7 separate regions of the Homo sapiens genome follow, and all the other regions are linked to region 6. The links are contacts of gene promoters, found by promoter capture Hi-C in human tissues and cell types (Jung and others, 2019). All regions are on one chromosome and are shown on one strand. Each heading gives the region's core, a stretch centred on a gene start or on the middle of the fragment in contact. The rest is flanking DNA. Distances are from core to core; before and after follow the strand shown. Region 1 holds the start of OR7A17 (olfactory receptor family 7 subfamily A member 17). Region 2 has its middle 3.8 kb from the start of SYDE1. Region 3 overlaps CLEC17A (C-type lectin domain containing 17A). Region 4 holds the start of OR1I1 (olfactory receptor family 1 subfamily I member 1). Region 5 has its middle 13 kb from the start of OR7A10. Region 6 holds the start of CIB3 (calcium and integrin binding family member 3). Region 7 has its middle 7.3 kb from the start of ADGRE3.

Region 1 (4,001 bases), core at 628-3,127, 1.3 Mb before region 6:
AACTTTTTATGACCAAAAATGTTTCCTTAAATATTTCATTAACAGTCAATGAGGAGGGCAATATAATTGGATCACAGCTGTAATCCCAGTGCTTTGGGAGGCTGAGTAGGGAGGTCACCTGAAGCCAGGATTTTGAGAACAGCCGGGGCATCATAGTGAGAACCAGGCTCTAAAAAGTAAACCAAAAAAGTTAACGATCCCAAAGAAATACAAACTCCCATCAGAGAATACTATAAACACCTCTATGCAAATAAGCTAGAAAATCTAGAAGAAATGGATAAATTCCTGGACACATACACCCTCTCAAGACTAAACCAGGAAGAAGTCAAATCCCTAAATAGACCAATAACAAGTTCTGAAATTGAGGCAGTAATTAATAGCCTACCAACCAAAAAGAGGCCCAGGACCAGTCAGTTTCACAGCTGAATTCTGCCGGAGGTACAGAGAGGACCTGGTATCACTCCTTCTGAAACGATTTCAAACAATGGAAAAAGAGGGACTCCTCCCCAGCTCAATTTATGAGGCCAGCATCATCCTGATACCAAAACCTGGCAGAGACACAACAAAAAAAGAGAAAATTTCAGGCCAATATCCCTGATGAACATCAATGTGAAAATCCTCAGTAAAATACTGGCAAACTGAATCCAGCAGCACATCAAAAAGCTTATCCAGCATCATCAAGTCGGCTTCATCCCTGGGATGCCAGGCTGGTTCAACATATGCAAATCAATAAATGTAATCCATCACATAAATAGAACCAATGACAAAAACTACATGATTATCTCAATAGATGCAGAAAAGTCCTCCGATAAAATTCAACTCCCCTTCATGCTAAAAACTCTCAGTAAACTAGGTATTGATGGAACATAACTCAAAATAATCAGAGCTATTTATGACATACCCACAGCCAATATCATACTGAATAGGCAAAAGCTGGAAGCATTCCCTTTGAAAACTGGCACAAGACAAGTGTGCCCTCTCTCACCACTCCTATTCAACATAGTGTTGGAAGTTCTGGCCAGGGCAATCAGGCAAGAGAAGGAAGTAAAGGGTATTCAAATACAAAGAGAGGAAGTCAAATTGTCTCTGTTTGCAGATGACATGATTGTATATTTAGGAAACCCCATCGTCTCAGCCCAAAATCTCCTTAAGCTGATAAGCAACTTCAGCAAAATCTCAGGATACAAAATCAATGTGCAAAAATCACAAGCATTCCTATACAGCAATAATAGACAGAGAGCCAAATCATGAGTGAACTCCCATTCACAATTGCTACAAAGAGAATAAAATACCTAGGAATATAACCTACAAGGGATGTGAAGGACTTCTTCAAGGAGAACTACAAACCACAGCTCAAGGAAATAAGAGAGGACACAAACAAATGGAAAAACATTCCATGCTCATGGAAAGGAAGAATCAATATCTTGAAAATGGCCATACTGCCCAAAGTAATTTATAGATTCAATGCTATCCCCATCAAGCTAACATTGACTTTCTTTACAGAGTTACAAAAACTACTTTAAATTTCATATAGAACCAAAAAATAGCCCGTATAGCCAAGACATTTCTAAGCAAAAGGAACAAAGCTGGAGGAAATGATTGGCTCTCAGGTGACCTCAGGTTAATATTCACGGCTCTTGTTCTTCCTGACCTTTCCTACAGTACCCACTGGGCTCTGGGACTTACCCTACTGAGTTTTCTGAAAGGAAGGTCTCCATGGAGAAGTGTAAATTCCTCTCTAGCAGGTTGATGGTGGAGATGGAATCTCTGTCTCAAGACAAGGCATCAGGAAAAGTTGAAGCATCATCTATACTTGAGCCAGACTAAGGACTCCAAATGAAACCACCATGTCATTTCCAGCCCAAGGTTGCATATGCTGAGGGACTGCAGCAGAGGAGATATTTATGGCTTCGTATATCTGCTGATTAGATACCTTTCCTCCTGTTATTCCAACTCTGAACACATCAGTTTCCTGGGGGACGTTGCCCTGCACTGAAACAAATGTCATTGTTGTTTTTTTTTTCTGTATCGTCTATTCCCAAGACACTATGTTAAAAGTGAGGTGTATCCAGGCTTTATTACTCCTTCCCCGTGGACTTCCTTGGCTTCCAGAGTCCCATTCTCCTAGCACCTTCTCCCAGCCTTCAGTGAAAATTTCCTCCAAAGTCTAAACTGAGGAACCTGTCTTGACTAGGTCCCTTGAGTCTCCAAAGCACTGGCTTGTGATGGAAACTCAGCTCTTGACATATCCAGAAAATGGCAATTTACCTTTGCAAGGAGATGAACTGTGTTCTGTTCATATAAAACCATGGGTACTACATTTCTTGGCTTCATGTTGCTTTTGCCAAAACATTAGAATTTCATATATATATTTTTTTGAGATGGAGTCTTGTTGTATCACCTGAGCTGGAGTGCAAAAACATTAGCCGGGTGTGGTGGCAGTTGCCTGTAATCCCAGCTATGCAGGAGGCTGAGGCAGGAGAATTGCTTGAACCCGGGAGGTGGAGGTTGCAGTGAGCCAATATGGCGCCATTTCTCTCCAGCCTGGGTAATAAGAACAAAACTCCATCTCACTAAAAAAAAAAAAAAAAGTGTTAGAACAGGCAAGCAGGATCAACTGATTAAGTTCACAGAAAAAAATGGGGGGATTTCCAAGTTTGTGCAGAAGGACAGCTGCAACACATTCTGCTTTGCAGTGAGGAATTCAGGGCACTCATGCTCCAGGACACCAGAACCCACAGTCCAAAGATCCCAGGATTCATGATGACCCTGTAGTGCAGGGGGTGACAGATGGCCACAAAGTGGTCATAGGCCATCACAGTCTGCAGAAATACATTCATCCCTGCAAAGAGTAGGAAAAGTTTGTGATTCTGGAAAAGTTTCTTGGGAAAGGACATGCCTTGCTTCTCGGAGACAGAAATTTGTGATCATGAAGGGACACCTGCTTCCAGGGGTCCACACGGGGAGGAGATTGCATGAGTGTCCTTCCACGTCTGCTTTATTATACTCAGGGACATCTTCTCTGTCCTCCTCTGCCTGGCTCCAAAAATTCACATTAAAAATGTTTAGACTCCTTTTATTTTATTTTATGTTCTGGGGTACATATGCAGGATGTGCAGGTTTGCTACATAGGTAAACGTGTGCCATGGTGGTTTGCTGCACCTATCAATCCATCACCTAGGTATTAAGCCCCACAGGCATTAGCTAGTTTTCCTAAGGTTCTCCCTCCCCCCCACCCCACCCCCCAACAGGGCTCAGTGTGTGTTGTTCCCCTCCTTATGTCTATATGTTCTCATTGATCAGGTCCCACTTATAAGTGAGTGCATGTGGTATTTGATTTTCTGTTTCTGCGTTAGTTTGCTGAGGGTAATGGCTTCCAGCTTCATCCACGTTCCTGCAAAAGACATGAACTTGTTCCTTTTTATGGCTGCATAGTATTTCATGGGGTATATGTACCACATTTTCTTTATCCAGTCTATCACTGGTGGGCATTTGGGTTGATTCTATGTCTTTGACATGAACAGACACTTCTCAAAAGAAGACATTCCTGTGGCCAACAAACATATGAAAAAAAGCTCAATATCATTGATCATTATAGAAATGCAAATCAAAACCACAATGAGATACCATCTCATGCCAGTCAGAATGGCAATGATTAAAAAGTCAAGAAACAGATGCTGGCAAGGTTGCAGAGAAATAAGAATGTTTTTACACTGTTAGTGGGAATGCAAATTAGTTCAACCAGTGTGGAAGACAGTGTAGTGATTCCTCAAAGATCTAGAACCAGAAATACCATTTGATCCAGCAATGCCACTACTGGGTAAATATCCAAAGGAATAGAAATCATTCTATTACCAAGATACATGCATGAGTATGTTCATTTTTAGACTCTTATAACCTGCTCTGCTATCTTTTAATCTTGGGAATATCTGTAATTCTGATAATTCTTGTTGCGTCAATTTATTTCTCCAGCTCTTCTGGAAACTCCAACTATTAATAGA
Region 2 (3,764 bases), core at 164-2,663, 1.1 Mb before region 6:
AAGGGTGAGGGAGCTGGGGTATTTATCCATCAATTCCCCTTGACTACCACAGAGGTGCTGAGCTCTGCCCAAAACTGACAGGAAATGGTCTTTTGGTCTTTCAACTAATTGGTCTATATGTGTCTGGGGCTGGTTAATCCACCAGGTACCAAAAGCACAGCACATCAGACCTGCAGCCAATGAGAACATTTAGGGGAAAGAAAACACACACGTGGCCAGGTGCAGTGGCTCACACCTGTAATCCCAGCACTTTGAGAGGCCAAGGAAGAAGGATCGCTTGAGGTCAGGAGTTTGAGACCAGCCTGGGCAACATAGCAAGATCCTGTCTCTACAAAAAAAATTTAAAAGCTAGCTGGGTATGGCAGTGCATGCCTATAGGCCTAGCCACTCAGGAGGCTGAGGCAAGAGGATTGCTTGAACCCAGAAGTTCAAGTCTGCAGTGAGCTATGATCACACCAATGCACACCAGCTTGGGTGACAGAGGGAGATTATGTCTCTAAAAATAATAAGGCCAAGCACGGTGGCTCACACCTGTAATCCCAGCCACTTGGGGGGCCAAAGTGGGAAGATCACTTGAGCCCAGAAGTTTGAGAACAGTCTAGGCAACATGATGAGACCCTATCTCCACAAAAAAATAGAAAAATCAGCCTGTGGCATGGTGGCACATGCCTGTAGTTCCAGTTGCTTGGGAGGCTGAGGCAGGAACATCACTTGAGCCTAGGAGGTTGAGGGTGCAGTGAGTTGTGGTAGTGCCACTGCACTACAGCCTGAGCAACAGAGCAAGAAAAATAAATAAAATAATAATAATAAAGTAAATAAAAATAACATGAAAATAATTTTTAAAAAATTTGAGACAGAGTCTTAGTCACCCAGGCTGGAGTGCAGTGGCACGATCTTGGCTCACTCCAACCTCTACCCTCTGGGTTCAAGCGATTCCCCTGCCTCAGCCTCCCGAGTAGCTGGGATTACAGGTGCCTGCCACCATGCCTAGCTAATTTTTATATTTTTAGTAGAAACGGGGTTTCACCATCTTGGCCAGGCTAGTCTTGAACTCCTGACCTCGTGATCCACCCGCCTCAGCCTCCCAAAGTGCTGGGATTACAGGCATGAGCCACAGTGCCCGGCCATGAAAATAAATTTTTTTAAAAGAAAAGAAAATGGGCCAGGCACGGTGGCTGACCCCTGTAATCTCAGCTCTTTGGGAGGCCAAGGTGGATGGATCACAAGGTCAGGAAATCGAGACCATCCTGGCCAACATGGTGAAACCCCATCTCTACTAAAAATATAAAAATTAGCTGCACGTGGTGGTGTGTGCCTGTAATCCCAGCTACTCAGGAGGCTGAGGCAGCAGCATCGCTTAAACCAGGGAGTCACAGGTTGCAGTAAGCCAAGATCGTGCCACTGCACTCCAGCCTGGGCAACAAAGCAAGACTATGTCTCTATAAAAGAAAAGAAAAGAAAATGTACGCATACAGGCTCTAAAATCTGTACAGCAACTAGCAAAATCCACAGGAATAAGCATACAAACATCATTATGAAACTTAGAATTCATAACCATTTCATTACATACAATTTGCAGATAATCTGTTCTCACTTATGGAAATTTCTGATTGCTAAGAAAGAATCAGAGCCAATGGTGAATTAAATAGGCTACATGCAGGCAAATAAAGACAACAGGAAAAGTACAAAAACTCAAAAAGATTTACACAAAATAATAATAATAAATATTTATGTGGTATGTGGGTGTCATATGGGTGGGGCTAAGGGTTGCTCTCACTCCCATGTCAGACCCCAGCTCCTCTGAGACTCTGAAATACCCCATTGGGACCTTAGTCCTGCAGCCTCTACCCTCAACTTGTAAACAGGTATTGTCTTGACCCCTGACTTCTTTCCCCATTGTCAATAGCTGCCTCAAAGACATCTGCGCAGGGATCTCATAGGGAGGAGGGTGCACTCCACCCTTTTACAGACTGATGCCCCCCAAACACACATATCCAAGAAAAGTGAACAGCACCTAGGAGAACTGTATATCAACAGTTGTATAATGAGTATACCAATATATGCATAATGAGAGTCCCAGAAGGAGAGAAGTGAAAGGAGCAGAAAGAATATTTGATGAGGCTGGGTATGGTGGTTCATGCCTATAATCCCAGCACTTTGGGAGGCCAAGGTGGGCAGATCACTTAAGGTCAGAAATTTGAGACCGGCCTGGCCAACATGACGAAAACCCATCTCTACTAAAAATACAAAAATTAGCTGGGCATGGTGACAGGCACCTGTAACCCCACCTACTTGAGAGGTTGAGGCAGGAGAATCACTTGAACCCAGAAAGCAGAGGTTGCAGTGAGCCAAGACCATGCCTCTGCACTCCAGCCTGGGCAACAGAGTGAGACTCCATCTCAAAAAATAATAATAATAATATTTGATGAAATAATGGCCAAAAAACTTCCCAGAAGCCCAGAATTGATGAAAGACATGAATCTACATATCCACAAAGCTCAACAAACTCCAAGTACAATAAACACAGAGAACCACACAAAGACACATTAAAACCAAACACACACAGCCTCCTCGTCCAGGCCTCTTGGACACCCCCTCCTATACAGACCTCCATCACCTGACACCTGATCTCCTACCTGAATATTCAGCAGTGAACAACATAGACAAGCATCACTTGATCACTTGGTGGAGACCCAGTCTGGACGAGGAGGCAGATAAACTAGAACAAACCACTGGGACTGTTAAATTCAAGTTGTGGCAAGTGTTAGAAGAAAGGAAACTGAGTAATGTGATACTGACTAGACAGAGGTGGTGGACAGAAAGGGTCTCCCTAGAAGGTGCCATTGGACCTAAAGGATGAGAGAGAGGTGGCCTCAGAAGAACCAGGGCTTCCCAGGCAGAAGGAACCATGTGTGCAAAGGACCTGAGGCAGAAATAGCTTGATATGAAGGAGAACCAGAAAGGAGGCCATGGTGAGTGAATGGGACAGCCAAAGAGATGAGGCTGGAAGTCTTGTGAGACCATGCTGGGAATCTGAATTTTATTCTAGGTGAGGTGAGCAGTCATAGGAACACTATTCAGCAGGATGGTGCCACAATCTGATTTCAGTTTTAAGTCCACTGTGGGTAATATATGGAGAATGAAATGTAGGGCTAAGACAGGTTATATTTTCCCAGATGGCCACAATATCTCCCACCCTACATCCACTTGTACAATGTCACCTTGACATGCCTCCCATGTAGAGAGGTATAATCTGTGCCCCCTTTCCTTGAATCTGGTGGCAGAAGTGACACAGCATGACACTCAAGGCTGGGTCAGAAGAGATGCAACTTCTTCCTTGTTCACTTTTAGAGGGCTGGGTGGCTGTCTAAGAAGTCTGACTACCCCAAGACCACCATGCTGGAAGGAAACCCGAACCACACGGAGAGGCCTGTGTAGCTACCCTGGTCCACAGCCCCAGCAACAGCTGGCGTCAGTTGCAAGACCTCTGAGTGAAGACACCTCCAGATGACTCAGGACCCTGCCATTTTTTAGTCACCCTCTAGCCTAAGTCTCCCCTGTCCAAACTGAACCACAGCATCTGTGAGCATCATGTAAACCAAAAGGTATCTCAGATAAGTCTCAATAAATTTAGAAAGCTTATTTTGCCAAGGTTATGGACATGCCTGTGACACAGACTTAGAAGCTCCTGACAACATAAACTAGGGTAGTCAGGGCCACTACCTTGATTCAGGTCTGTAATCCTAGCTACTTGGTAGGCCAAG
Region 3 (3,773 bases), core at 598-3,097, 1.6 Mb before region 6:
GAGCTCATTCTGCTTTGATCTCAAGCTTTTCTGAGTTTTCCCTCCACTCTTATAGGCTTTGCCGCCTCACCACAACATACTTGCCTCTGTATCTTTGCTTTTTTTTTTTTTTTTTTTTTTTTTTGAGATGAAGTCTCACTCTCTTGCCCAGGCTGGAGCACAGTGGTGTGATCTTGGCTCACTGCAACCTCTGCCTTCCGGGTTCAAGTGATTCTCCTGCCTCAGCCTCCTGAGTAGCTGGGATTACAGGCATGTACCACCACGCCCAACTAATTTTTGTATTTTTAGTAGAGACAGGGTTTTACCATGTTGGCCAGGCTGGTCTTGAACTCTTGACCTCAGATGATCCGCCCACCTCGGCCTCCCAAAGTGCTGGGATTACAGGTGTGAGCCACCATGGGCAGCCTGCATCTTTGCTTTTAAGATAGTCCCTGCCTAATGTGCCTCTTCCTCACCTCACAGTTATCGAATCACTTTCTTCCTTTAAAACCCACTTCTTTCAGGGTGCCCACCACCCCTACTTTTCCCCACATCCCCGGGATTGATCCCTCCTCTGAGCCATTCTCGGATTCTGAGCACTGTACATGTGGTTTTTGAGCGCAAGCGTGACCCACTGGAATGTGGACACAGTGGGGAACACAACCCTTGCTTCTCTCTCTGATGTGTCTGCAGTCCGTGGTGGATGGGTAGGATGGGTTCTCAGTCTGTAGCCCTCAAGCCCATCCCTTCTGACAGTGACTGGCATGGCAGGGCTAGCTGGCCTGAAGCATGACATTGCCCGTGTAAGAGCTGACACCAACCAGTCCCTGGTGGAACTTTGGGGCTTATTAGGTAAGTGAGACTTGGGGAATTGCCCAGGGATGGGGGGCATGGCAGAGCTGGCACATTACATCACTCCATTGAAGTCATTCTCAGTGCAGTCTATGTGAATGGTGCCCCTCCCCCTCACCGGAGTTGAGCAGTGTACAGCCTGCACAACTGTACATGGCATACTATGTACATGGCTCAGGTTCTGGGGCCATCCTGACAGCATTCTGTCTGGTTCCCAGACTGCCGCCGAATTACCTGTCCTGAAGGCTGGCTGCCCTTTGAGGGCAAGTGTTACTACTTCTCCCCAAGCACCAAGTCATGGGATGAGGCCCGGATGTTCTGCCAGGAGAATTACTCTCACTTGGTCATCATCAATAGCTTTGCTGAGCACGTGAGTTCTTCCCACTGAACCTTTGAGAACCTTCAGGGACAGCCTGCTTCTCTTCCAGGATGCACACATCCCTCCCTTCCCTGGATGGCAAGAAATTAGAATTACTTTTCAGTTACTAAAACTTTAACAGCAAGCTCTTCCTAAGGTAGTATCATGCAGAGGTTAAGAAGACATGCTTTGTTTTTGAGTTCAAATTCTGGTTGTGTTGATTTAACCTCTGTACATTTCAAGTATCGGTTTTATCTCTAACATGAAAATACAATAATTAATATCTGTTAGGTAGCACTTTTTATGTTTCAGGTTGCATTCCAAATACTTTACATCTTACAGTCATTAACACATGCAATCCTCACGACAACCTATACATTAGTATGCCAGTCGGAAGAGTTTATTTCTTTTCTTTTCTTTTTTTTTTTTGAGATGGAGTCTCGCTCTTTCACCCAGGCTGGAGTGCAGTGGCTGGATCTTGGCTCACTGTAAGCTCCGCCTCCCGGGTTCACGCCATTCTCCTGCCTCAGCCTCCTGAGTAGCTGGGACTACAGGTGCCCACCACCACGCCCGGCTAATTTTGTTTTTGTATTTTTAGTAGAGACAGGGTTTCACTGTGTTAGCCAGGATGGATGGTCTTGATCTCCTGACCTCGTGATCTGCCCGCCTCGGCCTCCCAAAGTGCTGGGATTACAGGCGTGAGCCACCACGCTCGGCCTTCTTTTTTTTTTTTTTTTTTTTTTTTTTTTTGAGATGGAGTCTCACTCTGTCACCCAGGCTGGAGTGCAGTGGTGCAATCTTGGCTCACTGCAACCTCTGCCTCCCGGGTTCAAGCAATTCTAGTGCCTCAGTCTCCCGAGTAGCTGGGATTGCAGGCATGTGCCACCACGCCTGGCTAACTTTTGTATTATTAGTAGAGATGAGGTTTCTCCATGTTGGCCAGGCTGTTCTCGAACTCCTGACTTCAGGTGATCCTCCCACCTCTGCCTCCCAAAGTGCGGGGATTATAGGTGTGAGCCACCACGCTGGGCTAGGAGGGGTTACTTTATGCTGCGGTAACAGACAGTCTCCATAGTCCAATGGTGAAAGTAGACGAGGGAAATCATACATTGACTGTCAGAGTTTCCATTTACTTTTGCTCACAAAAGTCACATGTACACGCCTATCTTTTAAGGTGGTAGGGAAATAAGTCTCACCTCCGTGCAACCAGAAGGAGGATTGGAATATGGGTAAATAGCTTTAATGATTTGCTACTACAATTTAGGTAGTATTACTATTTGTACACAATATGTATCATCTGTACTTCACAGGTGAGGAAGTCAAGGTTCCAGTACATGTAAGCAACTTGCCTGGAGTCACTTACAGCTAGTGGGATTTAAGCCTAGGTAGCCGGCTTTCAAGTCCATGGTCTTGACCATAGACATAGGACTATAGTATGGTTTATGTTTCCTTTTTTCTGTTTTTCAGGGACAAGGTCTCACTCTGTCACTCAAGCTGGAGTGCAGTGGTATAATCATAGCTCGTTGCAGCCTCAAAGTCCTAGGCTCAAGCAATTCTTTCGCCTCACCCTCCTGAGTAGCTAGGACAACCAGGCACTTGCCACTGTACCCAGCAAATTATTATTATTATTATTACTTTTTGAGATGGAGTCTCGCTCTGTCACCCAGGCTGGAGTGCAGTGGCGCGATCTCGGCTCACTGCAAGCTCTGACTCCCGGGTTCACGCCATTTTCCCACTTCAGCCTCCCGAGTAGCTGGGACTACAGGCGCCCGCCACCACACCCAGCTAATTTTTTGTATTTTTAGTAGAGACGGGGTTTCACTGTGTTAGCCAGGATGGTCTCGATCTCCTGACCTGGTGATCTGCCTGCCTCGGCCTCCCAAAGTGCTGGGATTACAGGCATGAGCCACCGCGCCTGGCCCAGCAAATTATTTTTACTTTTGTAGAGACAGGGTCTTGCTATGTTGCCTAGGCTCTATGTTTTCTATTCATTTTATTTTTAATTTATTTATGTCATTATATTTAAAATGTTTTTTTTTTCCCAGACAGTATATAGTTGGGTTTGGATTTTTAAAATCTGATCTGATAATCTCTGGCTTTTAATTGGTGTTTTCATTTACTTATTTATGTATTTTTGGAGACAGGGTCTCACTTTGTCACCCAGGCTGGAGTGCAGTGGCGCAGCCTCAGCTCATGGCAGCCTTGGCCTCCTGGGCTCAAGTGATTATCCCACCTCAGCTCCCCACCAAGTAGCTGGGACAACAGGTGTGTGCCACCATGCCTGGATAATTTTTAACATTTTTTGTAGAGATGAGGTTTTGCTATGTTGCCCAGGCTGGTCTGGAACTCCTGACCTCAAGTGATCTGCCGCCTTCACCTCCCAAAGTGCTGGGATTACAGGCATGAGCCACTGTACCCAGCCTAATTGGTATTTTTAGACCGTTTACATTTAATATAATTACTGATTGGGTTGGATTTAGGTCTATCATCTTATTATTTTCCTGTATGTCGTGTCCCTTCTGTTTTTTATCCCTCTGTTTCATAGCATTATTTGTATGAGTAGTTAAACAGTTTTTTTTTTTTG
Region 4 (4,019 bases), core at 524-3,023, 1.1 Mb before region 6:
GTACTTTTAGTAGAGACTGGGTTTCACCATTTTTCCCAGGCTGGTCTCGAACTCCCGACCTCAAGTGATCCACCCGCCTCAGCCTCCCAAAGTGCTGGGATTACAGGTGTGAGCCACCATGTCTGGCCACCTTATGGACTTTTTAGGTGGGTTTTTCCCCAACCTTTGGGCTCAAATTGATTTTTTTTTTTTTTTTGAGACAAGGTCTCACTCTGTCACCCAGGCTGGAGTGCAGTGGCATGATCTCAACTTGCTGCAAACTTCACCTCCCGGGCTCAAGGGATCCTCCCACCTCAGCCTCCTGAGTAGTTGGGACTATAGGCACGTCCAGCTAATTTTGTATTTTTAGTAGAGACAGGGTTTCACCATGTTGGCCGGGCTGGTCTCAAACTCCTGAGCTAAATTGATCCACCTGCCTCGGCCTCCCAAAGTGCTAGGATTACAGGTGTGAACCACCATGCCCAGCCTCTGAAAATAATTTTAATTTTAAAAAAATAATGACAGTGGGATTGGCACCTACTCATATCCCCATATGTCCAACGCGAAGTTGGTCTACCTTGTTCTTGCTTTGAAGCTGACCTCCCCACAGAGTTACGATCCAAGAGCCAACAGTCCAACAGCCAATATTATTAGGGAAAGTAATTCTAATATTTACTAAAGCCCCTAGGAGAATTTCAACAAGTATCCTACACACGTTCTGTGTGGCTGATAGGAAGGATTTTTTTTTTAAGAGACAGGGTCTCACTCCGTTGTCCAGGTTGGAATGCAGTGGTGCGATCACAGCTCACTGCAGCCTCAACCTCCAGGGCTCAAGTGATCCTCCCACCTCAGCCTCCTGGGTAACTGAGACCACGGGCATGTGCCACCAATCCTGGCTAATTTTTTTAAATTTTTTGTAGATATAAGGTCTTGCTGTTTTGCCCAAGCTGGTCTCAAACTTCTAGGCTCAAGGGATTCTCCAACCTTGGCCTCCCAAGTAGCTAGGATTATAGGCATGAGCCACCGTGTCCAACTCCAGTGCCAAGCAGGTGATCAAGAAGTGTTTGATAGGCCGGGTACAGTGGCTCAGGCCTGTAATCCCAGCACTTTGGGAGACCGAGGAGAGCAGATCACTTGAGGTTTGAGATCAGTCTTTCCAACATGGTGAAACCCTGTCTCTACTAAAAATACAAAGACTAGCTGGGCATGGTGGTGGGCACCAGTAATTCCAGCTACTCAAGAGGCTGAGGAGGGAGAATTGCTAGAACCCAGGAGGTGGAGGTTGCAGTGAGCCGAGATTGCTCCACTGTGCTCCAGGCTGGGTGAAAGAGTGACACTCCATCTCAAAAAAAAGTGTTTGATAAATTTATTTATTTAATACCGATTTATTGATTGATTGATACTCTTCGGAGCTTTCCTTAATGAGCCAGTTTCTTCCATAATGCAATGAATGAAAGGACCTCTCAGATTCAGGCATCTGAGTGCCCGACTGGAGTCTGGGACCCCCCAGACCTCTCTGCCTGGGAGCTTCCATGAAGCTCAGCCTGAGCTGGAAGGAGACCGTAGGGAGATGTCCTAGTGAGAGTGAATCCCTAGTCACTGTTTCCTCTTCTTACCCACTCGATGATCCCAAAGCACACCCATCTCCAAAAGAACAGGTCACATGTGGCAGAGGAGAAACAAAATAATTAGCATCCGCTTCCTTAACAAGGAGCTATGGGGACGAAGTCTCCTAGAGTCCCCAGACTATAAATACCCTGATGTTCCCCTGGCTCCCCCACTCACCTGCAGAGTCTGGGGGCGGGGGGGTACACATATGAATCCTTCCCATAGACATCAGGCTAACCCCAGCGATCACAGGTGAGTAGCCCCCATGCCCTTCCTAGGGGTTTAGTGCTGACCTCGGGATCCTCTAGCAGTTGGTGGAGAAGGAGGCTTCCCGGGACCCTCCCCTTGGTGATGCCATCCTGGTGAGCAGGTGAGGGATGGGGAAAGGATTGAGCTGAGGGTGGGGGTGGAGGGTTGTGGGAGAGGAATCTGTCTCCTTCCTAGAGGCCGAGAGAGAGAGAAGAGACTGAGACCAAGTCTAGACTCTCTGAGTGGACAAAGCACGCAGACGGCAGACCCTCTGTGGCAGGATATGTGGAGGAAAAGCACTGAGGGTCTGCAGCTGCAGGACACCTGCACAGATAGGAGAGGTCTTGAGAAACAAGTTTCTCCAATGCAGCAGCTCCCCAAGTGTGGTCCCTGGGCTAGAAGCACCAGCATCCTCTGGAAACTATCTAGAAGTGCTGGTTCTTACACCAGACATTTCAGGGAAAGGGCTTAGCTTTTTGTGTATGATGAGTTTGGGAGCGGGGGGGAGGGGGCGGGGGGATTGTTTTGTTTGTTTGTTTGTTCTTTCTGTTTTTGAGACAGGGTCTCGCTCTGTTGCCCAGTCTGGAGTGCAGTGGCATTATCATAGCTCATCGCAGCCTCGACCTCCCAAGCTCAAGTGATCCTCCCTCCTCAGCCTCCCGGGTACCTGGGATAACAGACATATACCACCATGCCTGGCTAATTTTATTTTCGTAGAGGCAGGGATCTTCCTATGTTGCCCAGGATGGTCTCACACTCCCGGGCTCAAGAGATCCTCCTACCTTGGCCCCCCAAGCAGCTGGGACTAACAGGTGTGTGCCACCATGTCCAGCTAATTTTTTATTTTGTAGAGATGGGGGTCTCACTGTGTTGCCCAGGTTGGTCTCTAACTCCTGGACTCAAGGGATTCTCCCACCTCAGCCTTCTGAGTAGCTGGGACTATGGAAGCATGCCACCATGCCCAGCAGATTGTTTTATTTTTTGTAGATCCAGGGCGGGATTGGGGGTGGGGTGGCCTCACTTTGTCTGCCAGGCTGGTCTTGAACTCCTGGCCTCAAGCAATTCTCCCACTTCAGCCTCCCAAAGTGCTGGGATTACAGGTGTGAGCCACCATGCCTGGCCCGCTTTTTGTGTTTTAACAAGCCTTCCAGGTGACCCTGAAGCGTGCTCAAGGTTGAGAACCGCTGCTCTATGCAACCCAAGTCAACAACTGAGGACTGTTACAAATATGTTGCCAGGAAGGGAATCGCAGTATTCTATCCAGCCTAGAGAAAACCAAGCATTGCATTGCAAAAACCTCAAGTCCAACACTAAAAAGCCTCAAAAAGTTAACATAGGGCTTTGCTGAAGGCCTCTTGGGGTTACCAAGGAGATTATGCTGCTAACCTTCCTAAAAACCCCTTTCATCGGCTGGGCGCTGAAATGATGAGATTACTGGGCTCACGCCTGTAATCTCAGTACTTTGGGAGGCCAAGGTGGGCGGATCACCGGGTCAGGAGTTCAAGACCAGCCTGGCCAACAGGCTTAGTAGAGGCGAAACCCCGTCTCTACTAAAAATACAAAAATTAATCGGGCGTGGTGATGCACACCTGTAATCCCAGCTATTCGGGTGGCTGAGGCACAAGAATCACTTGAACCCAGGAGACGGATGTTGCAGTGAGCCGAGATCGTGCCACTGTACTCTAGCCTAGGTGACAGAGTGAGACTCTGTCTCGAAAAGAAACACGTGTAAATGCTTGTAATTGAATATTTTTCCCTTGCACGTGTTGACAGCACAGAATTTAGCTTCGAAATGCCTCATAAAGAGGTGAGAGTGGCCATTCTTAGGGAGGCAGTGGAGTATGAGAGTGAAAATAAGTCTAAATTCAAAGGCGAGATCAGGCACTTGCAAGCTGAGTGCCCCTGGCAGCTCGCTCAGCCCCAGTCTGCTCACTGTAAATTGTAGCTAACACAATCTCCCTGTGGGAGTTATTGTAAGACCTATGCATTAAGAAACTGGCTCCTGGCTGGCTGCAGTGGCTCACGCCTGTAATCCCAGCACTTTGAGAGATCAAGCCGGGCAGATGATGAGGTCAGGAGTTCAAGACCAGTCTGACAAACATGGTGAAACCCCATCTCTACTAAAAATACAAAAATTAGCCATGCGTGGTGGTGCTCGCCTGTCATCCCAGCTACTCAGGAGG
Region 5 (3,862 bases), core at 875-3,374, 1.3 Mb before region 6:
TATGATTTACTTCTACTAAAGATGCAGAAGAATTTTCTAAGTTAAGAAAAATTGGAGAGTGTGGGTTCATGATAGGACCAACTGAGAGATTTGACAAAGTTTATAAAACAAAGTTTATAAACTTTCTTTTCTTCATCCTGTATATATATATATATATATATATTTTTTTTTTTTTTTACACAATCCCTTGATGTACATCTATACATACATAAAAAATTAACTATTATTCAGCAAACTTGGTGAAAAATCTCTAATTCTTCATTTGAATGAATGCAATCAAAAGAATAAAAACACTCACACTCTAGAACATAAAAGCAAAGAACCTGCAAAATCTGCAATAGAGAAAGTAAATGGCTAACAAACCAACAAATGCTGTATACTCAGCCTCAGCAGAAAGGAAATAATTGCAATTAAAAACTCTTGAGTAATCCTAATTTGACCTATGAAATAATATTTTTTCAAGTGATTATGAAAAATAATCCAGAGATGTTTCTCAACATCCTACAACTAACGGGACAGCCCACACTACAGAAAGTTAAGCAGTAAAAATGTTAACACTAGAGAGGTTGAAAGGCTATTCTGTCCAGAATATGTCCAACTTCAATGTGTGTATGATTCAATTAGGGATCTTGTTCAAATGTAGATTCTCATATGGGGCCTCTAGGATAGGTCCAGACATTCTACATGTGTAATGGTTTCCCCGTTGATGTTGATGCTCCCTGACCTGTTGGGTGGTTCACTCTTTGAGGATCAAGGCTATGGTCCAGTGTTAGAGTCAATTAGTACTTCGAGATCTTCTCCAGCAAGAATCCTACCACACACCTCATATTTGACTTCAGGTGGTCAGTGTTGGACTGGGCAGGTCAGCTTTTGCATAAATAAAGATTGCATGTGCCTCTTGTGTGCTTCTCTCATGAAAGAAAATGAAACCTTTAGAAATTCCATCTACTGGCTGGGCGCTGTGGCTCACGTCTGTAATCTCAGCACTTTGGAAGGCTGAGGTGGGTGGATCACAAGGTCAGGAGTTTAAGACCAGCCTGGCCAATATGGTGAAACCCAGTCTCTATTAAAAATACAAAAATTAGCTGGGCGTGGTGGCACGTGCCTGTAGTCCCAGCTACCTGGGAGGCTGAGGCAGGAGAATCACTTGAGCTCAGGAGGCAGAGGTTGCAGTGAGCCAAGATCGTGCCACTGCACTCCAGCCTGGGTGACACAGTGAGACTCTGTCTCAAAAAAAAATTCCATCTACTTATGGAGTTTATGTGAGAAGTAAGCAATATTTTGAAGCTCATTGGAGATTACCTTGCACAGAGCAGATGCTCAATGGATATGTCAGCTCTTCTTGACTATGTCTTTAGTTCATCAAATTACTCCTTCAATTCTTGTAGGAAGTCTTATAAGAACTCCTTTAATTCTTCATAGAACACTTACTTTATTGCAAGTTTATAGCACATCATTCATTAACATTTAATGTGGACATAAGTATGAAATTCTTGCAAGTCTGTTTCTCATGCCAGTAAATTTAATTTTTACTTATTTATTAACTCCCCTATTGTCTTTGGGAATATTGTGTTTCTCCACCTTTGGCTCGGGGCTTTGCTAATACCTCAATTGGGAGGCATGTATATCCCTACAGTGGTTGATGTGGAGCATAGATATGTGATGTGCTTTGTCTGAAAGAATGTGCGCATTCATGAGAAGTCCAATGTCTATGAAGAAGTTGTAAGAGGCCTTGTGAGTTTCCACCACTTCTCTTGATCTTCCTCTGTCAAACTGTCCTTCCTATTCAAAATTCAAAAACTAACTAGATTTGGATAGTCGCATGGATGGAATATTTTGTCCTCTTCAAAATCCCTATGTCCTAATCCCAATGAAAAACTTTCCCAACATAAACTCCTATGTGATAAAAAAGCAGGACATTAAACCGTTGACTAATGGGATGGCTTATTATGCAGCAGTAGCTTACTGATACAATAAACAGTGCAAACAGATCTAAAGACATTCAAAATATTCTAATGCTTCTTAGTTTTTAACATTGGTTCTTATATTTGAGGCAGCATTAATGATTACCTGGATATTGATGCTTATGTCAGATAATTGTATTAAAACGAGAGTATTGTTTCCTTTTTTTCTAGGCAGCCAGGAAAGCTTGCAAGGACATATATGTTTTTGAAGGAATGAATTGTGACCTTGGTTCACACAAGTTTCTATTCCCAGAGGCAATAATAGGCAGAAATCCAAGTTCATGTGTGTGTATTCCTTTGATCGTGAGAGTTGAAGAGAGTTCAGAGTATAAAATATATAAAGCAACTGCTGATAAATGAAGCACACATATTGTTCACTTATCTGCACTTTAATGTTTATGACACAATTTTTAAAGGGGAAGATATTTGTTAGTACAATGGAAGGAGTCGTATTTATAGGTAGCACTGGAAAATTTTAAGTAAAATGAGGAAGCTAATACAATAAAATTATATGGACTATGACACCAAATCTCTCAGATGCACAAACTTCATTACACATGGACACTAAGCTTGTATGCTTCAAATGTTCCACAGTAATTCCATATGTGACTGAAAGTTTTATTCTGTCATATTGAAGGTAATTGCTGAGTCTTAAGGCCAGATGAAGTCAATTTATGTATGCTCACTTGTCTTTCTGTTTAGTTTACACTTGGAACATGTATTTTATAAGCAATTTTTAATCCCAGCACTTTGGGAGGCCGAGGTGGGTGGGTCACGAGGTCAGGAGATCGAGACCATCCTGGCTAACACAGTGAAACCTCGTCTGTACTAAAAATACAAAAAATTAGCCGGGCGTAGTGGCGGGCGCCTGTAGTCCCAGCTACTCGGGAGGCTGAGGCAGGAGAATGACGTGAACCCGGGAGGTGGAGCTTGCAGTGAGCCAAGATCACGCCACTGCACTCCAGCCTGGGAGACAGAGCGAGACTCTGTCTCAAAAATCAATCAACCAATCAATAAAATAAAAAAATAAAAAATAAGCAATTTTTGTCCTCCTTCTTTTTACCAGGGAATATAGAGGGCACTGTAGACACCAAGCAGAATAGAAGACAGGATCCTAAGGAAGAGAATAAAATTCCAGGAGTAGCTATAAAACACACTAGTATATTAAAATTTACATTGTGAGGAGGACCAGTTAAGGCAGTGACAGAGAAAGAAATAACAAATGGAAAAATGAAAACCTGTGGTCTCAGCTAGGCATCCACAGTAAAATTATATTAATGACCTTAGAGTGGCCATTCTTAATTATTTGGGCTAACACAACTCATTACTGCATGAGACGGATAGGAATCTCCACCTTGTTTCTGACCCTAGTCTGGGAATAACTTTGCAAAAGTTGGAAAATGACAAAGGACAAAAAAACTGTTGGCTGTTTGAGAGCTGAAAGCTTTTAAAGAAAAGGCATACATTTTACAAAGCAGTTAAGATCATACAAATCCCAAAAAATTAACAGAAGGAACCACTTCTGTTTTCACAATCTGACTAATAAATCACAATGTTTGGGTCTGGGGCTTACAGCTCTGGAATCACAGACCCTTCTTGAAAAATGGCTCTTTTAAAAAAATTTTTTTTTTTTTAAATTTTGAGACAGAGTCTCACTCTGTCTCCCAGGCTGGAGTGCAGTGGCATGATCTCAGCTCACTGCAACCTTGCCTCATGGGTTCAAGCGATTCTCCTGCCTCAACCTCCTGAGTGGCTGGGACTACAGGCGCATGCCACTACGCCCAGCTAATTTTTGTATTTTTAGTAGAGATGGGGGTTTCACCATGTTGGCCAGGCTGGTCTTGAACTCCTGACCTCATGATCTGCCCACCTCTGCCTCCCAAAGTGCTGGGATTACA
Region 6 (3,566 bases), core at 138-2,637:
CTCAGGAGAATCTTTATCTTTCATTTTGTTTTTCTGAGGCAGAGTCTAGCTCTGTCACCCAGGCTGGAGCACAGTGGCGTGATCTCGGCTCACTGCAACCTCCACCTCCCAGGTTCAAGCAATTCTCCTGCCTCAGCCTCTTGAGTAGCTGGGATTACAGGCACCCACCACCTCGCCCAGCTGATTTTTGTATTATTAGCAGAGATGGGGTTTCACCATGTTGGCCAGGCTGATCTTAAACTCCTGACCTCAGGTGATCCACCCACCTTGTCCTCCCAAAGTGCTGGGATTACAGGCATGAGCCACCGCGCCCAGCCTCAGGAGAATCTTTCTAACGTGCTGATGGTCTCTCCCCTGCTCATGCATGCTCCATAGCTCCCTGCCACCCTTGGGAGAAAGCCCAAGCTCATCAGCCTAGAGACTGGGACAGTATGACAAGATGTGACTTGTCAGCTTCTCCATCTCTGCCTCTGTCCACTGACCACACCTGCCCCCCTTCCCCATTTGAGTCCCAACAAATTGGAAATACCAGTTGGGCATGGTGGCTCACACCTGTAATCCCAGCACTTTGGGAGGCTGAGGCAGGGGGATCGCTTGAGCCCAAGGGTTTAAGACCAGCCTGGGCAACATAGTGAGAGCCCCATCTCTATAAAAAAATACAAAAATGAGGTACATGTGGTGGCTCGCACCAGTGGTCCTAGCTACTCGAGAGGCTGAGGTGGGAGGATCACCTGACCTTGGGAGATCGAGCCTGCAATGAGCCATGATTGCACCACTGCACTCCAGCCCAGGCAATAGAGACAGACCCTGTCTCAAAAAAAAAGAAAAGAAGGAAGGAAGGAAGGAAGGGAGGGAGGGAGGGAGAGAGAGAGAGAAAAGAGAAAGAAAGAAAGAAAGACTACTTACACACACACACACACACACACACACACACACACACACACACACCAAATTGCAAATATCCTCCAGCAATGAATAGAAAGTTGTTTTTCCAGATCTTCTCTCCCTTCCTCCCTGGACTGACCTCATGATCTCCTTCCTTGTGAAAAATGTGCAGTCCTGTGGAGAGAGGTGTTGTCTTAACCCGAACCCTGCCTCTGGGGCCTCCTCCCACGGCCTCCTCCCTCCACCCCACACTCACACAGATGGCCTGATGCTGCCACACACAGAGCAGAACCAGGAACCCAGGCGGACGGTACACCCAGATGAAGGCATTCTGTTCCCATTTCCCAGACCACGGAACCAAAGTTGTCAAACCCACTGAGGACCCATCCTGCCCCCCTCTACCTGATACGCTTCCAGCTGCTCGTGTGTGAAGACTGTCTGCTTGTTGCCCATGGTGTGAACCACAGCCCAGACTTGGGGATGCACCCCAAAGGCTCCCAGCTTCCTCGGGGCCACACGGGTTGCCAGGCTGTTGTGTACCAGTGTCTGGGCAAATCTCCCTGCCCTGGCTGTCACCCACCCACCTACGCCATCACCCCCTGCTTGATGAGACTCAAATTACAGCCAGGCTCTCTGGACAACAGCCTGAATGTGTCCATGGGTAAGGATAAGGGCTGTGGGATGTCACAGAGAAGACCTCAGTGGGGAGGCCACATCTGCCACCACAAGGTGAGGCTGGGGTTATGGGGCACACTCAAGAGACAGGCAGGGTATACAGAAGGGCTATGGGCACACTGCAGCTCAAATCCCAGCTCTCTGCCCACTAGCTGTGTGGCCCTGGGCAAGTCACCTGACTTCTCTGAACCTCATTCATGAGATGAAAATTACATTATACCTACCTCATAGGGTCATTCTCAGGATCTGAGATTTAAAAAAAAAAAAAAAAGGTTTTGACTGGGCAAGGTGGCTCACACCTGTAATCCCAGCACTTTGGGAGGGCCAGGCAGGCGGATCACCTGAGGTCAGGAGTTCAAGACCAGCCTGGCCAACACGGCAAAACCCCATCTCTACTAAAAATACAAAAATTAGCTTGGCATTGTGACACATGCCTGTAATCCCAGCTACTCCAGAGACTGAGGCAGGAGAATTGCTTGAACCCAGGAGGTGGAGGTTGCAGTGAGCCGAGATCCCGCCATTGCACTCCAGACTGGGTGACAGAGTAAGACTCCATCTCCAAAAAAAAAAAAAAGGTTTTGGCTGGGCGAGGTGGCTCATACCTGTAATCCCAGCACTTTAGGAGGACAAAGCATGAGATTCACTTGAGGCCAGGAGTTCAAGATCAGCTTGGGCAGCATGGCAAGGCCCTATCTCTACTAAAAATACAAAAATTAGCTGGATGTGGTGGTGCATGCCTGTGGTCCCAGCTACTCAGGAGGCTGAGGTGGGAGGATTGCTTGAGCCCAGGAGTTTGAGGCTGCAGTGAGCCATGATTGCATCACTGCATTGGGAACATAATGGTGAACAAGCTAGATGAAGTTCTGGGGTGTGCATTGACATTATTATTTTATTACATTTTATTTTTTTGAGACAGTCTCACTCTGTTGCCCAGGCTGGAGTGCAGTGGTGTGATCTCGGTTCACTGCAATCTCTGCCTCCCAGGTTCAAGTGATTCTCCTGCCTCAGCATCCCAGGTAGCTGGGACCACAGGTGTCCACCATGCCAAGCTAATTTTTTTTGTATTTTTTTTTTTTGAGACGGAGTCTCGCTCTGTCACCCAGTCTAGGGTGCAGTGGCGTGATCTCGGCTCACTGCAAGCTCCACCTCCCGAGTTCAGGCCATTCTCCTGCCTCAGCCTCCCGAGTAGCTGGGATTATTACAGGCGCCCACCACCACGCCTGGCTAAGTTTTGTATTTTTAGTAGAGACAGAGTTTCACTATGTTGGCCAGGCTGGTCTCGAACTCCTGACCTCAGGTGATCCACCCGCCTCGGCCTCCCAAAGTGCTGGAATTACATGTGTGAGCCACCTCGCCCGGCCCAAAGGGCAGATCTAATGTAGCAGCTACCAACTTTATTAAGGCCCAGAATCCTCTTGGGTGGAGAATCTGAGAGTCTAAATTTCTTAGCCTGGCCCTCCATGCCCTTCTCACTTTGGGTCTCACCTGTGTTTTCTCTACCTGGCCTGGACTATTGCAATGTTTCCCAGCAGGCTTTCCTGCCTCGGCCTCATCAAGCATCCTCTGCCAAATCTGTGCAGTCATCTTGTAAAATGTGACCCTGATCAGGCTTGAAAGATGCCTCAAGGATGACTTTTTTTTTTTTTTGAGACAGGGTCTCACTCTGTCACCCAGGCTGGAGAGCAGTGATACAATCATGGCTCACTGCAGCGACCCTCCTTCCTCAGCCTCCCAGGTAGCTGGCACTAGAGGCACATGCTGCCACATCCGGCTAATTTTTTTTTTTTTGTATTTTTTGTGGAGACAGGGTCTGTCTATGTTGCCCAGGCTGGTCTTGAACACCTGGCCTCAAGTGATCTACCCACCTTAGCCTCCCAAAGTGCTGGGATTACAGGCATGAACCACCATGCCCAGCCATCCAAGAATAACTTTCAAAAAATAAACAATATCAAGTGTTGGTGAGGGTATGGAGCAACTGGAATGCTCATACATTGCTGGTGTTGATG
Region 7 (3,933 bases), core at 413-2,912, 1.5 Mb before region 6:
GCCCTTTCTTTTTCTTTCTTGCCACTCTACTCCTGGCCACGTCCTTCAAGTGGCATTCTTTTGCATGTCCTTCCATGATAAACTCTTGTGAAAGGAAAATAAAGTCTCAGGACTCCAATTCAGGAATAAAATTAAGCTGAAAGCGGAGTCAAGCAGACAGCTACAGATAAAAGGCCAGATATCTTCACAGGTAGCTACTGTATATTCATTTTATCTTACATAAAGTGCCGATTTACTGAGCACAAGGTGAATACATCATTGACTAGTCCCCCACCTGCTCCTTTTATCTCTGGCAACACATTGGTTCAGTAATGTGACCAAACTCTCCCTCTTTCCCCTCCAGTCTGCTTTTCCCCCTTAAATATTGAAGCCCTCAAAATTATCTTTGGAGAAACAAACAGATGATAGTATGTTTTTCTGTGTTCCTTTCTTCCAGGCATGTTCTTGACCCTAGCAAAATAAGCTTCTAAATTGATTGAGACCTGTCTCAGTTACTTTTGGTTTATACTCTCCACTGTGCCCTTCCCTGCCTCTAAGATAGAGTTAGCTTCTCTCATTTCTCTGTTCATATCCTATTTCATCAAATCTAAAGCATTATTAATTTTAAGGTACACCATTGGCCGGGTGCGGTGGCTCATGACTGTAATCCCAGCACTTTGGGAGGCTGAGGTGGGCGGATCACTTGAGGCCAGGAGTTTGAGACCAGCCTGGCCAACATGGCGAAACCCCATCTCTACTAAAAGTACAAAAAAGTAGCCAGGCGTGGTGGCACGCACCTGTAATCCCAACTACTCAGGAGGCTGAGGCAGAAGGATCGTTTGAACTCAGGAGGCTGAGGTTGCAGTGAGCCAAGATGGTGCCACTGTACTCCAGCCTGGGTGACAGAGTGAGACTCCACCTCAAAAATAAATAAATAAATAAAGGTACACCATTATTTTATGTACCACTACACCTAACCATTAAACTATGATACAATGCTTTATTATTCTTTATAAATTTTTATTTTATTCTTGAATGAGCTATAATAGATTTATTTAGAAATGAATATTTATCATGCATGGCTCTGTTGCATGCATACAAAAGAAACTAGCAGCGGGAACTAAATTTGTTAAGATGTTCTTGAAGCTTCTTCATATTCAGAATCTTCTAAATTACTTTCAGCACAGTCATTGGTGCCCATGTTTCAATTTCCATGTTTCTCTATGTCAGTAGTTCTCAAGATGTGGTCCCCAGATCAGTTGCATCAATATTGTCTGGGAATTTGTTAGAAATGCAGATTCTTGGGCCTGGTGTGGTGGCTTATGCCGGTAGTCCCAGCACTTTGGGAGGTCAAGGTGGGCAGATCACAAGGTCGAGAGATCGAGACCGTCCTGGCCAACATGGTGAAACCCTGTCTCTACTAAAAATACAAAAATTAGGCAGGAGTGGTGGTGGGCACCTGTAATCCCAGCTACTCAGGAGGCTGAGGCAGGAGAATCGCTTGAACCTGGGAGGTGGAGGTTGCAGTGAGCTGAGATCACACCACTACACTCCAGCCTGGGGACACAGTGAGACTTCATCTCAAACAAATAAATAAATAAATAAATAATGCGGATTCTTGGACCATATCCAGACCTGCTGAATCAGAAATGTTGAGATAGAGCCCAGTGAGTGTTTTTTAACAGACCTTCCAAGTAATTCTGATACATGCTTAAGTTTGAGAACCCAGCTTTGCATGGTATTGTTCTCTGGACCATCAGGAGTACTGTGATGTAGGATTTATTCAAAGAACCCATGAGAGAGCCAGAGGCCATTGCTAGTTCTCTGCCATCCTAACATTGCTTAGTGGGGCACCTGAGAATAAATCAAATGTTTTCCAACTGTGATGACAAATGAGATTATAATTCCTTTTCGTAACCAAATTATTGTGGTATAATATTCCAGGGGCTTTCTTGCTGGAAATCTAAAAGTGTGTTCTCAGTTATCTCTGAGAGTTTCTCACAGGTTCACCTCATAGATGTCCCTGAATAGCCCTTTCCATCCTTCCATGCATCCATCCATGCATCCATCCATGCATCTATCCATTTATCCATCCATCCATCCATCATCAATCCATCCATCCATCATGCATCCATGCATCCATCCATCCATCCACTCACCCAGCCATCTACCTTTCATCCGTTCACTCACCGACCTATTCTTCTTTTCATCCACCAACCCATTTATGCACTCATCCATCCACTTAGTCACACACTCAACTTTTCATCTTGGGTGATGGAGGTTGGGATGCTTGTGATTTTGGTGAGGATAGAGATTGAGATGCAAATTATTTTTGGTGTGGGATAGAGGCTGGGATGCACATGGTTTTTTAGGGGGATAGAGGTTGGAATGCACATGATTTTTGGGGAGTTAGAGGTTGGGATTCTTGAGGTTTTGGGGGATACAGGTTGGGATGCATGTGATTTTTGGGGGGATAGAGACTGATATGCACATGCTTTTTTGGGGGGATAGAGGTTGGGATGCATGTGATTTTTTGGGGGTAGGGTTTGTAATGCACATGATTTGTTGGGGGTAAGGGTTGGGATGCACTTGATTTGTTTGGGGGATGAGGATTAGAATGCACCGAATTGGCCAGGCTCCGTGGCTCACACCTGTAATCCCAGCACTTTGGGAAGCCAAGGTGGGTGGATCATGAGGTCAGGAGTTCAAGACCAGTTTGGGCAAGATGGCGAAACCCTGTCTCTAATAAAAATACAAAAAATTAGCCAGGCCTGGTGGTGGGCATCTGTAATCCCAGCTACTCGGGAGGCTGAGGCAGGAGAATCACTTGAACCTGGGAGGCGGAGGTTGTGGTAAACCAAGATTGCGCTGTTGCACTCCAGCCTGGGCAACACAAGCTCCCTCCCCCCCGCAAAAAAAATAGAATTTACCGAATTTTGAGTGGAGTGCAGCTTTCATAATGCACATGATTTTTGGGTGGGGTTTATAATGCACAAGATTTGCTGGGGGGCAGGGTTTAGGATGCATTTGATTTGTTGGAGGGATAAGGGTTAAAATGTACATGATTTTTTTTTTCTTGGGTGCAGGGAGTGGGATGCACATGATTTTTGAGGCATAGAGGTTGGGATGCCCATGACTTTGGGGGTAGGGGTTATAATGCATGTGATTTCTTACAGAGGGGTTACTCCTAGAAGAAGAGAACTGAAGAAGGATAGGACAGAGGAAGGAGCTGAACAAGGAGGTAGTCTTAGCAAGAGTCTAGCCTCAGCCTAATCCCATGGGGAGCTCTGGACTGTGCACCATGGAGTTGATCCATCTTGAGGCAGGGCCCTTATACAAGGCCCTTATGTCAATCAATCATTGGCTGTGGCTGCCCTGGGCGTGGGTGCAAGCCAAACCTCACAGGTAAATGAATGAATGCAACCATGAAGAGCAACTGGGTGGAGCTCCAGGAGCATCAACTGCATTGCTCAAACCTTTATCTGGGTCATGCTCACCCACTGCCTCAAACGTTGCTACACAGAGTATGAATGTCACTTCCTCTTCATTTTAAAGTGTTCAAAATAACAATTCTCATTAGCCGTGTTGCAACATCACATGATAAATATGGGGGTGAGCAGCTTCCACATGATTCTTTTTTTCAATTTCTGTTGTTATTTCTCATTGAAAAAATAAGAATTGTATATATTGATGGGGTACTATGTAATGTGTTGATATATGTATACATGTGGAATGATTTTACCAAGTGAATTAACACATTCATTACTTCACATACTTATATATTTTGTTGTAGTGAGAATATTAAATAAGTAAATATATATATATATATATATATATATTTTTTTTTTAGAGACAGGGTCTTGCTCTGTTGCCCAGGTTGGAGTGCAGTGATGTGATCATAGCTCACTGCAGCCTCGAACTCCTGGGATCAAGCGGTCCTCTTGCTCCAGCCTC

Evidence for each region. The method cuts DNA at HindIII sites, captures the fragments that hold promoters and counts their contacts. A contact is called where the count stands out against the background at its distance.
Region 1: a contact is called between the fragment with the promoter of OR7A17 here and the fragment with the promoter of CIB3 in region 6, in 1 of the 25 tissues and cell types used here (dorsolateral prefrontal cortex).
Region 2: a contact is called between a fragment that was not itself captured here and the fragment with the promoter of CIB3 in region 6, in 2 of the 25 tissues and cell types used here (dorsolateral prefrontal cortex and lymphoblastoid cells).
Region 3: a fragment that was not itself captured here is called in contact with the fragment with the promoter of CIB3 in region 6 in 1 of the 25 tissues and cell types used here (dorsolateral prefrontal cortex).
Region 4: a contact is called between the fragment with the promoter of OR1I1 here and the fragment with the promoter of CIB3 in region 6, in 3 of the 25 tissues and cell types used here (dorsolateral prefrontal cortex, heart right ventricle and mesenchymal stem cells).
Region 5: a contact is called between a fragment that was not itself captured here and the fragment with the promoter of CIB3 in region 6, in 1 of the 25 tissues and cell types used here (dorsolateral prefrontal cortex).
Region 7: a fragment that was not itself captured here is called in contact with the fragment with the promoter of CIB3 in region 6 in 1 of the 25 tissues and cell types used here (dorsolateral prefrontal cortex).

What each region holds. Positions count from the first base shown.
Region 1 is chr19:14,884,255-14,888,255 of GRCh38, forward strand. It overlaps OR7A17 (olfactory receptor family 7 subfamily A member 17), which reads right to left and starts at 1,878. Exons shown (of 3, transcript NM_030901.2): 1 at 1,687-1,878. It also overlaps the pseudogene OR7A18P. The HindIII fragment of the contact is 7,391 bases long and covers 1-3,701 here.
Region 2 is chr19:15,101,711-15,105,474 of GRCh38, forward strand. No RefSeq gene overlaps it. Among named protein-coding and RNA genes, the nearest start is that of SYDE1, 3.8 kb to the right of the region's middle. The HindIII fragment of the contact is 6,045 bases long and covers 1-3,764 here.
Region 3 is chr19:14,598,982-14,602,754 of GRCh38, forward strand. It overlaps CLEC17A (C-type lectin domain containing 17A), which reads left to right. Exons shown (of 14, transcript NM_001204118.2): 11 at 736-831; 12 at 1,050-1,201. It also overlaps a transcript of ADGRE3 not described here. Among named protein-coding and RNA genes, the nearest start is that of CLEC17A, 18 kb to the left of the region's middle. The HindIII fragment of the contact is 8,373 bases long and covers 1-3,773 here.
Region 4 is chr19:15,080,438-15,084,456 of GRCh38, forward strand. OR1I1 (olfactory receptor family 1 subfamily I member 1) reads left to right here and starts at 1,774. Exons shown (of 2, transcript NM_001004713.2): 1 at 1,774-1,839. The HindIII fragment of the contact is 16,029 bases long and covers 1-4,019 here.
Region 5 is chr19:14,859,887-14,863,748 of GRCh38, forward strand. It overlaps the pseudogene OR7A2P. Among named protein-coding and RNA genes, the nearest start is that of OR7A10, 13 kb to the left of the region's middle. The HindIII fragment of the contact is 3,510 bases long and covers 370-3,862 here.
Region 6 is chr19:16,172,138-16,175,703 of GRCh38, forward strand. CIB3 (calcium and integrin binding family member 3) reads right to left here and starts at 1,388. Exons shown (of 6, transcript NM_054113.4): 1 at 1,288-1,388; 2 at 1,025-1,059. The coding sequence starts at 1,338. The HindIII fragment of the contact is 31,728 bases long and covers 1-3,566 here.
Region 7 is chr19:14,680,172-14,684,104 of GRCh38, forward strand. No RefSeq gene overlaps it. Among named protein-coding and RNA genes, the nearest start is that of ADGRE3, 7.3 kb to the left of the region's middle. The HindIII fragment of the contact is 3,768 bases long and covers 1-3,546 here.